3 separate regions of the Homo sapiens genome follow, and regions 2 and 3 are each linked to region 1. The links are contacts of gene promoters, found by promoter capture Hi-C in human tissues and cell types (Jung and others, 2019). All regions are on one chromosome and are shown on one strand. Each heading gives the region's core, a stretch centred on a gene start or on the middle of the fragment in contact. The rest is flanking DNA. Distances are from core to core; before and after follow the strand shown. Region 1 holds the start of A2M (alpha-2-macroglobulin). Region 2 overlaps PZP (PZP alpha-2-macroglobulin like). Region 3 overlaps PZP (PZP alpha-2-macroglobulin like).

Region 1 (5,056 bases), core at 1,166-3,665:
TTGCCCTCCAGTCACCAGAACTTAGTCATATGCCATACCCAGCTTCAAGGGAGTGGGTTAAAAACATAGAAGTCAACTAGGCAGTCTGCACCCAGCAAAGGATCGGGAGTTCTATTATTAAAGCAGAATTGGAGAAGTGGTAACAGGAAACAACCACCAGCCTCTGCTGCATGTATATGAAACAGATGTTTCCCAAATCACTATTCTCACTTATTCTGTCTGATACACTGTATTTTTTATTATATTCTCTTTCATTTTTTAAAATCCTGGTCATGACTCACAGGGCATGATGTTACAACCCACTTAGATGCTAACACCATAATCTGAAAAATATTACCTATATTATGTCTAATATTGGCCACTTGAAGTATGGCTAGCCTAAATTGATCTATGTTGTAAGTATAAAATTCACACCAGCTTGTGAAAACAAATTATGAAAAAAAAGTCTTTAAGATATCATTAACAATTTTATATTGGCTAAATGTTGAAATGATCATATTTTGGATATATTGGATTAAATAAAATACACTATTAAAATTAATTTAATGTTTCTCTTTATGTGGTTACTAGAAAATTTAAAATTTAAAATTACACAGGGCGATCACATTCTATTTCTAGTAGACCACACTGCTGTAAGCTCAAGATTCAAATGTCAAACTCCTGTGAATATTAATACGTGAATATCCCACAAGCACTTACTCCATCTTCCCAACCCTCAGCCCTTCTGTCCTCCTTCTGCTCCCACCAATCTGTGTTTCTTCTGTTTCACTCACCCAGCTAAAGGCAACACAATTCACTCCGTGACGAGCCAGGAAAATGGAAAGACACATTTTCCTTTATTCCTCACATTGATATATTCACTGAGCACTATAATTACCTCTTAAATATGATATAAATCTGCAAGCTCTTTTCAATACCACCACAAATTCCATAGTTCAAAATGCCATCAGCTTTCACCTATATTATTACACCAGCTCCCATCTGGTCTTCCTGCATCCTGGATCACCTCTTTCTAGCTGCCCTTTCAAATTTCAATAAGAGCAAGCTTTCCAGGAAACAAACCTGAAGTCAATCCACTGAGTACTCCTCTGAATACCTTAATATTGTTGACAAATTCCTTTCTGATTTGAAGTATCAGAAAGGAATATTTCCTCCATACCAAATAGTTTTCATTTCATGCATGTGCCGTGATTCTTCTCCCTCCTTTGCATCTGTCATTCGTTATGCTTAGAAAGCTCTTTTCATCTCTTTGTTCTTCGAGACAACCACTACTCATACTTCAGAGCTTAATTTACATTTTGCTTTCCCTCAAAATTTTTTTAAAAGGTTCCAGGTCTGGGTTATGTGCTCTCTTATGTGCTCCCAGAGCATCCTGAACTTCTGCAATAATATGTTTGGCTACTGTATTTTATACAGTAGTTTTATATTGTATTTTATACTGTATTTTATACAGTAGGTGTTATATTGTATTTTATACAGTAGTTGTTTTTCTGTCTGTTTTTGCCCCAACAAGAATGTAAAATCTTTAAGTGCCTGTTTTCATACTTATTTGACCACCCTATCTCTAGAATCTTGCATGATGTCTAGCCCTAGTAGGATCAAAAAATACTTACAAAGCAACTGAATAGCTACATGAATAGATGGATGAATAAATGCATGGGTGGATGGATGGATTAATGAAATCATTTATATGACTTAAAGTTTGCAGAGGAGTATCATATTTGGAAGGCAGTAAGGAAGTCTGTGTAGTCGATGGTAAAGGCAATTGGGAAGTTTGTTAGGCACAATAGGTCAAAATTTGTTTTTGAAGTCCTGTTACTTCACGTTTCTTTGTTTCACTTTCTTAAAACAGGAAACTCTTTTCTATGATCATTCTTCCAGGGCCTGGCTCTTCATCTGCAACCCAGTAATATCCCTAATGTCAAAAAGCTACTGGTTTAATTCGTGCCATTTTCAAAGAGGACTACTGAATTCTGATGTGGCTTCAAACATTTAGGTTAGGCATATCTAATGGAGAACTTGCAGCCACACTGACTTGTAGTGAAATATCTATTTTGAGCCTGCCCAGTGTTGCTTAAATTGTAGTTTTCCTTGCCAGCTATTCATACAAGAGATGTGAGAAGCACCATAAAAGGCGTTGTGAGGAGTTGTGGGGGAGTGAGGGAGAGAAGAGGTTGAAAAGCTTATTAGCTGCTGTACGGTAAAAGTGAGCTCTTACGGGAATGGGAATGTAGTTTTAGCCCTCCAGGGATTCTATTTAGCCCGCCAGGAATTAACCTTGACTATAAATAGGCCATCAATGACCTTTCCAGAGAATGTTCAGAGACCTCAACTTTGTTTAGAGATCTTGTGTGGGTGGAACTTCCTGTTTGCACACAGAGCAGCATAAAGCCCAGTTGCTTTGGGAAGTGTTTGGGACCAGATGGATTGTAGGGAGTAGGGTACAATACAGTCTGTTCTCCTCCAGCTCCTTCTTTCTGCAACATGGGGAAGAACAAACTCCTTCATCCAAGTCTGGTTCTTCTCCTCTTGGTCCTCCTGCCCACAGACGCCTCAGTCTCTGGAAAACCGTGAGTTCCACACAGAGAGCGTGAAGCATGAACCTAGAGTCCTTCATTTATTGCAGATTTTTCTTTATATCATTCCTTTTTCTTTCCTATGATACTGTCATCTTCTTATCTCTAAGATTCCTTCCAGATTTTACAAATCTAGTTTACTCATTACTTGCTTACTTTTAATCATTCTTCCCCAACTCTCTGAAGCTCTAATATGCAAAGCCTTCCTAAGGGGTGTCAGAAATTTTTAGCTTTTTAAAAGAATAAATTTTAGATATTCACATTCATATTGATCTACTTGAGACCATGCTATTTATCTTTTCTTATTTCCTCTTTCTCAAGGGTCCATTTTCTATTTTATAAAAATAAAGACAATTCTCTCCCACAACCAAACATGGAACAATGCCCTGGAGTATAAAAATCTATAGAGTGCCAAATAAAGGAACAATTTGAAATACTGGTGTTGATATTGAAAAAGCAAGGGACTCTAATGTCAGAAGAGAAATCCTTTTGCAGATGAGGTGGTGATGAATTCTTTGTTTCAACACAACTGAAGGAGGAACTGAAGGAAATACCAGCTGATGAGTGATGAGAAGGGATTCTTGATAATAGAGTACTAGGTGATTTTTGGCATGTAATGCAGAAGTTGCAAGAAGTGGTAACAATGATGCAATTGTTTTACCTGCCATTTATTTACTTTTATGTGAGCCATTCTTCTTAGCACTTATAGCTACACAAAACAAAAATAGTAACAGAATTAATGTTGTTTAATTCTTGCAATCCATGGATGCATAAATTCACTGGGGGAAAAAACAGCTCATCATTCTCATTAAAGATGTGCTTCAAAAGTATTTTAATTTTATATCTAATATGTATGAATCATACTTTGTATTTATTTTGTTTTGATCAGTTATATACAAGTATTTTTGAACATAGCTCAGTCAGAAGGAAATGTTTAATATTTATAAATTTATGGTTACATTCTATTTAAAAGAGGAGTTAAAGTTAAATTTACCTACCCACATATGTTACATATATATGTATTTATGTATATGTATTCATATATGTATATATGTGAACATAAGTATACATACGTATATGTATAGATGCTTGACAATAAAGAAGTAAGAATAATTCACAACATTTTTTGAAATATAAAAATTTAGGATAAATTTCTGTATGGTAATTGGCATGGAAATTCAAATTCAAAAAGGAAAAAAGAAGAGAAAGATATTAAATATCAGACCATTAAAAGAATTTTTTAATGTACTTTTAAATAGTGATAGTAGGTATCTTATACTACAGTGTTTATTATTCATGAGAAAATTGTAAAAGTAATCTAAGTATTAATTTAAAATATCATCAAAAATAATATCTTTTGCTATTACTTAAAATCATGATAAAAATATGTTTACTTGAAAATATGTAAGGAGTGCACAGAGTCCAAAAATTATTTTAGGAGTTCTGTGAGCAAAAATGTATAAAAACTACAGGGTTGATCTTAAATTACATGTCAGGGTACTGAGAAAGTTTCTGTACTGCACATGAGTTACCAAGGTCTAAAGTCAATCACCAGAGGACCATTTTTGGATGGAGCCATTGTCTAATCATGAGCTGAAAGGCAAATATTTAAAATGCAAACATCCATGGTTAGGTAACACTCTTAAGACCTTATTAGCTGCTTACCACAACTGAGACTGTGAAGTAATGGCTCACTTTCTTTGAGGCTCAGATTCCATATCTGTGGAGTGGAAGCGAGTGCTTACCATACAATTTTCACAGGGCTGCTGAATGTGTGTATGTATGTATGTGTGTATATATATTTTAATGAAAATTCTATAATTTGATTAGTTTTTGTAATGTCCGCATGACTGAGAGCTTGCTTACTTTTTACAGCAACTTGAAGGTAAAAATAGATTTTACAACATGAACAAATGTAACTACATATTTTTATTTGAATTCAGATGTTCACAAATTGTTCCTTAAAGTGAAGCATGCCTACAAGTTTTAATCTGTTTAAGACCTACCTCAAGTAAAATGTTCACTGCCATGGCATGTGAGGGAAAAGGGAAATAATTCTTATGCATGGCCTTCAACGGCCAAATTTCATGCTCATCAGTACATCTTCTCTTGGTGTAGAACTGATGATGATAATTATGATGATGGAAAAAAGTGCTGTTGATAGCAATGCCTCTCTTCCTTCACTTTCCTCTAACTGAACCGTCTCATTCCCAGGCAGTATATGGTTCTGGTCCCCTCCCTGCTCCACACTGAGACCACTGAGAAGGGCTGTGTCCTTCTGAGCTACCTGAATGAGACAGTGACTGTAAGTGCTTCCTTGGAGTCTGTCAGGGGAAACAGGAGCCTCTTCACTGACCTGGAGGCGGAGAATGACGTACTCCACTGTGTCGCCTTCGCTGTGAGTGTGGCTGTTTGACTTAATATACTTGGTTCTTTTAGTCAGGGTCATAGGGATCTAGTATTCTGTCAGATGAGGCTTT
Region 2 (5,056 bases), core at 1,164-3,663, 55 kb before region 1:
ACTTCCAATTATGTGTCCAATTTTAGAGTAAATGCCATGTGGCAATGAGAAGAATGTATATTCTGTTGAATTTTGGTGGAGAGTTCTGTAGATATCAATCAGGTCCACTTGATCCAGAGTTGAGTTCAGGTCCTAAATATCTTTGTTAATTTTCTGTCTTAATCATCTGTCTAATATTGTCAGTGGTGTGTTAAAGTCTCTCGCTATTATTGTGTGGGAGTCTAAGTCTCTTTGTAGGTATATAAGAACTTGCTTTATGAATCTGGGTGCTTCTGTATTGGATGCATATATATTTAGGATAGTTAGCTCTTCTGGTTGAATTGAATCCTTTACTATTATATACTACCCTTCTTTGTTTGTTTGATCTTTGTTGGTTTAAAGTCTGTTTTGTCAGAAACTAGGATTGCTTTTTTCTGTTTTCCATTTGCTTGGTAAATTTTCCTCCATCCCTTTATTTTGAGCCTGTGTCTGTCCTTGCGTGTGAGATGAGTCTCTTGAAGATAGCATACTGATGATGGGTCTTGGCTCTTTATTCAGCTTGCCATTCTGTGTCTTTTAACTAGAGCATTTAGCCCATTTACATTTAAGGTTAGTATTTTTATGGGTGAATTAGATCCTGTCATCATGATGCTTTTTTGCAGACTTGTTTATGTGATTGCTTCATAGTGTTCTGGCCTGTGTACTTCAGTGTGTTTTTGTAGTGGCTGGTAATGGTCTTTCTTTTCCAAACGTAGTGCTTTCTTCAGGAGCTCTTGCAAGGCAGGCCTTGTGTTGATAAATTTCCTAACCATTCACTTGTTTGAAAAGAATCTTATTTCTCCTTTGCTTTTGAAGCTTAGTTTGGCCAGGTATAAAATTCTGGGTTGGAAATTATTTTCTTTTAGAATGTTGAATATTGGCCCCCAATTTCTTCTGGCTTCCATGGTTTTGGCAGAGAGGTCCACTGTTAGTATGATATGTTTCCTTTTGTAGGTGACTTGGCCTTTCTCTCTAGGTGTCCTTAACATGGTTTCTTTCATTTTGGCATTGGAGAATCTGATGATTTTGTGTCTTTGGGTTGATGTTCTTGTGGAGTATCTTACTGGCCTTCTCTGCATTTCCTGAATTTGAATGTTGGCCTGTCTTGCTAGGTTGGGGAAGTTCTCCTGGATGATATCCTGAAGTATGTTTTCCAACTTGGTTCCATTCTCCCTGTCTCTTTCAAGGATCCCAATCAGTCATAGGTTTGGTCTTTTTACATAATCCCATATTTCTCAGAGGTTTTGTTCATTTCTTTTCATTCTTTCTTCTCTATTCTAGTCTGCCTGTCTTATTTCAGATAGATAATCTTCAGGCTCTGAGATTCTTTCCTCCTCTTGGTCTATCCTGCTACTGATACTTGTGATTGCATTGTGAAGTTCTTGAGATGCGGTTTTCAGCTCCATCAGGTCAGTTATGTTCCTCTCTAAACTGGCTATTCTGGCTACCAGCTCCTGTATTGTTTTATCATGATTCTCAGCTTCTTTTCATTGGGTTACAGCTCAGCAAAGTTTATTGTTATCCACTTTCTGAAGTCTACTTCTGTCAATTCTTAGCCTCAGCCCGGTTCTGTGCCCTTGCTGGTGAGGTGTCACAGTCATCTGGAAGAGAAGAGACACTCTGGCATTTTGAGTTTTCGTTGTTTTTGAATTAATTCTTTCTCATCTTTGTGAACTTATCTACCTTTAATCCTTGAGGCTGCTGCCCTTTGAATTAGATTTGTGTTAGGTCTTTTTTGTTGATGCTGTTGTTTTCTGTTTGTTTGTTTGTTTTTCTTTTAGCAGTCAAGCCACTCTATCATAGGGCTGCTGAGGTTTGCTGGGGGTCCACTCCAGACCCCAGTTGCTTTGGTTTCTCCCGTACGTGGAAGTATCACCAGCAAAGGCCATGAAACAGCAAAGATGGCAGCCTGTGCCTTCCTCTAGAAACTCCATCCTGTGGGGGTACTAACTTGTTGCCAGCCCACATGCAACTGTTGGAGGTGGCTGGAGACCCTCATTGGGAGGTCTCGCCCAGTCAGGAGGAATGGGATCAGGGACCTTCTCAAAGAAGCAGCCTGGCTGCTTTTTGGTAGAGCAGGTGGGCTGCATTGGGTGGGATCCTTCCTCACCTGGATCACCTGTATTCTCCAAAGCCAGCAGGTTGGAGTGGCAGAGTCAACCAAACTGCAGAGATGGCAGACACCCCTGCCCCCCAGGAGCTCGGTCCCAGGGAGAGATCAAAGCTCTGTCTTTAGAACCCTGGCTGGAGTACCTGAAGCCCCCACAGAAAGGTCCCACTCGATGAGGAGGAATGGATCAGGGTCCCACTTAAAGAAGCAGTCTGATCACAATCTGGCAAGGCAGCTGTGCTGCATCGTGGGGGACCGTTCCTCATCCAGACCATCTGTATTCCCCAAGCCTTCAGGCTGGAGTGGCTGAGTCCTCAGAACCACAGAGATGGCACCCACCTCTCCCTGCAGGAACTCAGGTCCATCTCAGGTGGACTCCAACCCACTGCCGTCGGCTGGCTGAGATTCCAAGACAGTGAGTCTTAACCTGTGAGGTGCTGTGGAAGTGGGGTCCACAGGATGATGCTCTTTGGCTCTCTGAATTTAGCCCCCTTCCTAGGGATATATACAAACAGATTTCCTGCCTTTCCAGGGATCCCAGGGCCGGATTATGTAAAACTCCAGGGTTTCTGTGTGCCTGAGCAGCTGCTCTGCCAAGACTCCACATAGCTTTGTGTATCAGACCCAAGACCCTGGTGGCATGGGCTCACAAGGGTATCTCCTGATCCATGGGTTGCAGAGATCCTTGGGAGAAATGTGATTTCCCAGGCGAGGTCGCACAATCACTCACCGCTTCCCTTGGCTGGGGGTGGGGGTTCCTTCCGTTGCCCTCCCCCACCTCCGCCCCTGCTGCTTTTCATTGTTCTCTGTGGCTCAAGTTGCTTGCCTAGTCAGTCTCAATGTGAGAACCTGGGTATTTCAGTTGAAGGTGCTGCATTTAATAAGCTTTTTCATTCCACTCCGTAAGTGCTGCAGACCGCAGCTGCTTCTAATGGGCCATCTATACGATTTTCTGTCTGAGAATAAGCCTGAGTAGACATAGATGTTTAACAGGTGGCAATAATAATATGTAGCTAAATTCCTCAGGGCATTATGTATTAATTAAACACAGATGCAAGTTACGTCTTCTTTCTATATTTGGTCTATTTTTACCTCTAGACTCTACAATGAAGTTTTAATTAATCCTTCATAACTTAAGATTTTGTTAATCTTTGGAAGCATTTTCCCAAGTAGGTTTCATTTCTTTATAACAAAACAACACTGTTAAATATAAGGAAAATCTTCAACTATCTCTAAGGTACCAACTACATGAACGTACTCAAGAAAAGATTGGTGATAATTATTTTATTTCTCTCAGTTCATTCTATTTCAAAAGAAAAGTAAGTAACAGTTCTGCCTTTGATCCCCCCACTGCTACAGGTATATAATCTGCTAACTGTGAAGGATCTCACCAATTTTCCTGACAATGTGGACCAGCAGGAGGAAGAACAAGGACACTGTCCCCGTCCTTTCTTCATTCATAATGGAGCCATCTATGTTCCCTTATCAAGTAATGAAGCAGATATTTATAGCTTCCTCAAGGTAAAATTCTCACTACTTATTAACATGCTGGCTTGTGAGTTTTTGAATGTTAATAAAACTCTGTATCTATTCATAATCTTAGTAATTATGTAGCCTTGCCTCTCCATTTTTCAGCAGACAAAAATGAAGCCAATAAAAAGGTTAAAGTCTCTTGTGAGGATCACACAAAAGCTCAGTATGTGAGTCAGGGCTAGATCTAACCTCTGCCTATTCATCTGGATACTTTTTAGTTATATTTAGGTTTTTTTATTTGCAAACCAAAAAATAATGAATAAAGAATAAAATCTTAATAATCCATAAGTTTAGTAATTTCACTACTCTATATTTACTGTCAAGTGTTTCGCCATAGAATTAATATAAGGATACTGGAATTACATAGAGAAGTCTCTAAGGATAATATGTTTTATATATTCTAATCAAGCTTACAAGTAGATTGAACAATTATTTTTTTCCAGGGGATGGGATTGAAGGTGTTCACTAACTCAAAAATCCGAAAACCAAAGTCGTGTTCAGTCATCCCTTCCGTGTCTGCAGGAGCAGTAGGTCAAGGATACTATGGAGGTAAAACAGCAATTTGCTTTTAATTTTATTTCATGTCCAACAATATTACTATGCCCAAAATGCTAAAATGAGGTAATGTAGCCCTATTTCCACTTTATACACACAAAGAAACCAAGATTCAAATTAATTGTTTCTTGCTGAGGTGACTTAGCTGGTGATAGCTAGAACTGATCAGAGATTTTTTTTTAGATACATCCGATACTTCAGGGCACAAAATCAGATAAAATACAAGATTCTGATGTACTGTAAGAGAGGGAAAATGCTGACAATGGAAAGAAAGAGTAATTCTGATTATGGAAACAGGAAAGACATTCATAGGGATGCTGTATTTTAAAAAACATAAAGAAGGACAAAGGGCTTCACTGGTGACAAGAAACAACGTGAACATCACAGAAATATCTCATAATCCATGGCCAAAACCACTATTCAAATACAGCAGCCTTTTTCAACACCCTTGAACTTATTAAAACATCTGTCCCATCACCAGGTCTACTTACACTTGAACACTACCCAGCCATTTGTCATCCCTCTCTCATGAATCCAACTCCCTTTTTCTCCAAAATATCCCTGACATCCATCTGCTCACAAATATTTATATGCTCGGATTGGAAATCAGATATCCTATATGTGAAGTGGGTGTGTCATATCTCCTCTCTAAGCCTCAAATCCTTCATTAATAAATTGAAGGAATTTGACTAATGGCTCTTCAAGACCTTGCAAAACGCCCAATAAGATAACTAAATATAATGCACCAACACAAATTAAGAACTTTGATTGTTTAAATAGCATTTTCTATGTTCCTTGGCATTTAAGATTAATATCCATCTTTAAATGAGCTTTATTATT
Region 3 (5,056 bases), core at 1,638-4,137, 33 kb before region 1:
CTGAAGTTTTCTAATTCTCTCCAGCTTGAAAGATCTAGCTCTGTGAGCCGGACAGAAGTGAGCAACAACCATGTCCTCATTTATGTGGAACAGGTGAGGGCTCTGACATCCTGGCTGAGACTACATATGGGTCGTCTTTCTAAGTGAGTCTCTTTACTAGAATAGTCGGTAACATGAGGAAAACAATCATTAGTAATGCCCTTCCAGAAAGGTTTATCTATTCCAAGAAGAATAAGAGGGGAAACCTTTGAACTCCATGTAGTGTTCTGTTCTATTTTTAATTGTGTTAAAATTGGAATATGAATATTTCTATGAAATTTAAAGTACAAAATCAATAGAAAAAAGGTGTACCATGTATTCCTGTTGTTTTAAAGGCCCCACTCCCTGACGATATGAATAAATATTAAACTTGAAGTGATAAATCAATAGGACTAAAGGTTATCATGCATTCCTGTTATTTTAAAGACCACCTCCACAAAATGAATAAATATGACCCCAGTGGTTGCCTAATGATAATGTTAACATTCTAAAATGTCACCATAAAATAAAATGAGGATTTTATGAATATTATCAAATATGACCATAAAACAAAGAAAATGTTTTATGTATCCAAACAGAAAGAATACTTCGTTGTTTTAATTACAGATTGTATGAAACCATGTTTCTCCAGCTTAGAACACATTCACATGGGCCCAGAGAGTTAATCTCATAACAAGGGACTACAAAAGAATAGGGTTGGCTCAGTTGTTTAGAAGAAAATCTGTGAAAATTTGTTGACTGTAAATAGAGTTCCCAAGGATGCATTCTAAAACCCATCTTGACATCCACAAATGTCTGGTCACCTAAAGACACTGGTGAAAAAGAGTCAAAGAACAATAAGAATATGTTTTGCTCATGGGAGAAAGAAGGAGGTTTTCTAGGTTCTTGATTACTCCCACTTTTCCTTTCAGGTGACAAATCAGACGCTAAGTTTTTCCTTCATGGTTCTGCAAGACATCCCAGTAGGAGACTTGAAGCCAGCAATTGTTAAAGTCTATGATTACTATGAGACAGGTGAGTGAAAGAAAAATGAAACAATCTTAACCAGAGCCAAGAAATGGATCCTGTTGTGACAGTTGATCCTCTTCTTAGCCCACTTAGTCAACATTAATCTTTTGTTTCTTTCCTCCAAGATGTACACTATAAAAACGACTTACTACAGTCTGGCCAACATAGCAAAACCCCATCTCTACTAAAAATACAAAAAATTAGCTGGGTGTGGTGGTGTGTGCCTGTAATCCCAGCTACTATGGAGGCTGAGGCAGGAGAATCGTGTAAGCCTGGGAGGCAGAGGTTGCAGTGAGCTGAGATCACGCCATTGCACTCCAGCCCAGGTGACGGTGCGAGACTCCGTCTCAAAAAAAAGAAAAAACAACACAAAACAAAACAAAAACTTACTGAACAAATTTATCAATTAGTGTTTCTTGAGTCAGAAACTTAAGAATTAAAAAGAATGATAATATATAGTCACTGCTTTCAAGTAGTTTAGAGACATAGATAACATAATACAGATAAAAATATTACATAACAGGAAAGACTATTAGTGACAAATGAGTGTTAGTGAGCTAAGCAATAAGTTTGAGAGGCAAAAACAGCACAGAAGGCTGGTGCTCAGGAAGAACAAACAGGAAGAAAGATCTGATTTGGATCCTAGAGGATGAGTGGAGTTTTGGGGGTCTATAGAAGTAGGAGGAGTGTTTCAAGCTGGAACAATAATCTTTGAAAAGTAATTAAGGGAGCAAGCTGAACAAAGTGAATAGAAGCAGAGAGGTCATGGAAGAGAGAACTACAGGTTAGTGCAATTATGATCATCTTCCCAAGAATTTAAAATTTGAACAGCTGCCATCTGAACAGGCTTCAGTCCCCATCTCCAGTCTCAGGGAAAGAGAATATAAATATGTTAATGATCCTGTTTAATTCTTGTCTATTTACATGAAGTTTTGACAATTCTGATAGGGCGTGCTTTTCTCCAGTAGTAAAGTGACTAGACAGATTTAGCATGGTCCCTAGTTCATAGATCTTTCGTTTCTTCCTTCACCCAACGTTATCTTTCAGATGAGTCTGTGGTTGCTGAGTATATCGCCCCCTGCAGCACAGGTAAGAGTTCACCACTTATGACCAGTACTAGATGGCATTAACCCACTCTCCAAGGGCCCCTGCAATTTAAATTCTCTACAAGGCTTTTCCTACATCTGAGACAATCCACATGGCATGTCCTCACACCAAGACAAAACTGTGGCGTAGCATGCCTATTCTGTAGCGGACTCTCCAATTTCAGATATTCACTCCCAGAAAAGTCAATAAGCTTTGTTTATTTGTAGGACAGCTATCTCTAAAAGCGACATTTCACTTCACAGCTAATTGGGCTTCCTTCAACACAATGGTCAACTAATCACACACCTAAAACCAAATCTAGCCTTACACTTAATTTTGTAAATGAAGCTTTATTGGCACATGGCCACACTTATTATTAACATTGGCTATGGCTGCCTTTGTGTGCTGATTAGTCATGACAGACCACATGGCATATAAACCTAAAATAATTACCATCTGGCCTTTCACAAAGTTTCCTGACCCTGCATAAGCTCACTCTGCTGCCCACACTCAACTGAATGCTCCTCAGGAAATGATACAACCTCCTTACGTTTTTCTTTTCTCCATAGATACAGAGCATGGAAATGTTTGAGGACCATACAGGCTGTATATTTTGGTGGATTCTCTGTCCTATACATTTACTTAGAAGGAATGGAGTTATTTGTCTCTATAAAATAGACACTAAAAATATTTGCTGAATAAATATGTACTTCTGGTCAAACTATCACTTGTTGCATCATTCATTCATCAGACATTAATAACATGTTCACATGATGAGTTATATTCTTTCTGTTTAATTTTGGTGCAAAGGTTGGATTCTAATAGGTTAGCATTCTAGTAGGAAAGCAGAGTGGAGGTTGCAGGTAAAGAAATTGAATGAAAATTCAGTTGAGAAAGGTGGAAGGTGAGAACATAAGGGGATGATAGATAATATAAACGTGGTAATATAACTGGACTGGAAGGGTCAGAAGATTAGAAGAAGAGACATCAGAAGAGATGTTTGAGATGAGGAGAAGTGCTGTTATAGGAAAAACTAATATCTAGAGAATTGATAATTAAAGTGCATTTTAGGATAAGATTATTATATGGATTAAAAAAATAAAGAGATGAGAGTGAAGGATTTAGATAAACCATCTACAAACATGGATAATAAAATTAATAAGTTTAAAGATAAAAGTAACAGTGGTGAGGATGCAGTGACTCAAGGGTTAAAATCTTCAAAGAATAAAAGGGGAGTAACCTGCATCCTATAGATTATTTTAATAGAAAGAGACATGGTGGCTACAGTTAACCATATTGTATTCTTGAAAAATGCTAAGGAGTAGAGTTTAACCATATGACAACTATATGAAGTAATGTACATGTTAATTAGCTTGACTTAACCATTCTACAATGAATATATATTTCAAAACGTTGTACATGGTAAATATACACAATTTTTTCTGCTTAAAATAATTTCTAAAGTAATTTTTAAACATCATTTAAAAATAAACAAAGGTATAGCAGATGGTAAAATCAAATGGCATGAGAGTAGTTAATGCCTTTTATGGAGAGAAAAAAAATCAAGTATTTGAGAAGAGGCAAGAATGACATTATCCTATCTACAGAAACAGGGATAAATGTAGTGTGGGAGAAAAAAAAAACTGGTCACCTCTTAATGGAGACATAAAACAAGTCAAGGTCTCAATAGGAAGACATGCTTCAAATTCATACATAAAGGCAACATTTGGAGAAGGCTATAAGATATTTTGCTAATAATAGGTTCTGAGTTCCAGAAGACTTAGCTTGAAGGGTTCAAGGAGTCATAGAAGAATGGTGGGTGGATATACCAGAGTGGAGCCATAACACAGTAAGAAACTGGCTGATGAAAGATACATGAGTGGAGAAGTGAAGTCAGCAAGATGACAGAGTAGGAAACCCTGGTCTTCCCCCAGGCTTCCCCCCTGTCCCACACATGAACACCAGTTTAGTAACAATCATGGACAAATTCCCTTTGTGAGAAATTCAAAGGCTAATTGAAAGACTCCTGTATCCTAAACAAATGCAAAAGCAGACTCACCGAAGCCAGTAAGATTCAGGACATGCTACGGCTTATGAGAGGCTAAAAAACAGAAAAAAGAAGATTCAGAACACTCCCAGCATAGCATAATACAATTAGAAAGAGGCCCCCTAGCTCCCAGCTTCTCTTAGGGGAGAGAAGGGGTTACTTCACACATCTTAACTTTTCTGAGGGTTCTCCCCAGAGAACTGGTTTCTATCTTGCCAGTGATAGAGTTCTGACAGGACAAGCACAGTCTAGCTGCTTGAAGGAGAATGAAGATGGCAAGTTGGACTGGTAGGCACTATAGATCCTTCTCCCTGGTCAGCAGAGTGTGTGGACAAAAAATTTCCTGCTCTCAGCTTTCCCTTAGGGAGAGAAAGAGTTGATCCATGTGTCTAATGCCCTAACTTTTCTGTAGATACCCAAACAACTGACATCTGCCTTGCCAGTCGGGGAGCTCAGATGAGTCTGCACAGTCTAGCCCCACCTTGGAAGAAAGGAGGTGGCAGCTTGGAATTCTAGATGCCATTAATCCTTCCCCTTGCTAGCAGACAGTAAATGGATTTTTTTAAATCCCAGCTCTCAACTTCCGCCTGGGAAAAGAGTTGATCTTTGCATCCAATACTCCAACTTCTCTGTGGCTGACCAAAGAATTGGCACCTATCTTGCCAGTCAGGTAGTTCTGATGGGTCCAGCACAGACTGGCTGCCTGGGGGAGAAAGACAGCATTGATTTGAAGTGGTGAACACTATAACTCCCCTAGCTCATCACAAAACAAGCAGACAAGAACCACAGCTTCCTGCTTCTCCCTGAGAAGAGAAAGGATTGTTAGAATCTCCCACAACCTCCAACAAGGCTGATTGATAGGAACCTTCTCCTATA

Evidence for each region. Contacts are between HindIII fragments. The study calls those that stand out against the background at their distance.
Region 2: a contact is called between a fragment that was not itself captured here and the fragment with the promoter of A2M in region 1, in 1 of the 25 tissues and cell types used here (hippocampus).
Region 3: a contact is called between a fragment that was not itself captured here and the fragment with the promoter of A2M in region 1, in 2 of the 25 tissues and cell types used here (mesendoderm cells and thymus).

Annotation. Positions count from the first base shown.
Region 1 is chr12:9,113,278-9,118,333 of GRCh38, reverse strand. It overlaps A2M (alpha-2-macroglobulin), which reads left to right and starts at 2,415. Exons shown (of 36, transcript NM_000014.6): 1 at 2,415-2,570; 2 at 4,791-4,974. The coding sequence starts at 2,485. It also overlaps a transcript of KLRG1 not described here. RefSeq lists an enhancer at 125-204. The HindIII fragment of the contact is 8,783 bases long and covers 1,615-5,056 here.
Region 2 is chr12:9,168,023-9,173,078 of GRCh38, reverse strand. PZP (PZP alpha-2-macroglobulin like) reads left to right here. Exons shown (of 36, transcript NM_002864.3): 16 at 3,488-3,649; 17 at 4,105-4,210. It also overlaps a transcript of KLRG1 not described here. Among named protein-coding and RNA genes, the nearest start is that of PZP, 38 kb to the left of the region's middle. RefSeq lists an enhancer at 2,467-2,978. The HindIII fragment of the contact is 4,945 bases long and covers 1-4,885 here.
Region 3 is chr12:9,146,641-9,151,696 of GRCh38, reverse strand. PZP (PZP alpha-2-macroglobulin like) reads left to right here. Exons shown (of 36, transcript NM_002864.3): 33 at 25-93; 34 at 951-1,053; 35 at 2,095-2,136; 36 at 2,703-2,857. The coding sequence ends at 2,725. It also overlaps a transcript of KLRG1 not described here. Among named protein-coding and RNA genes, the nearest start is that of A2M, 33 kb to the right of the region's middle. The HindIII fragment of the contact is 4,844 bases long and covers 466-5,056 here.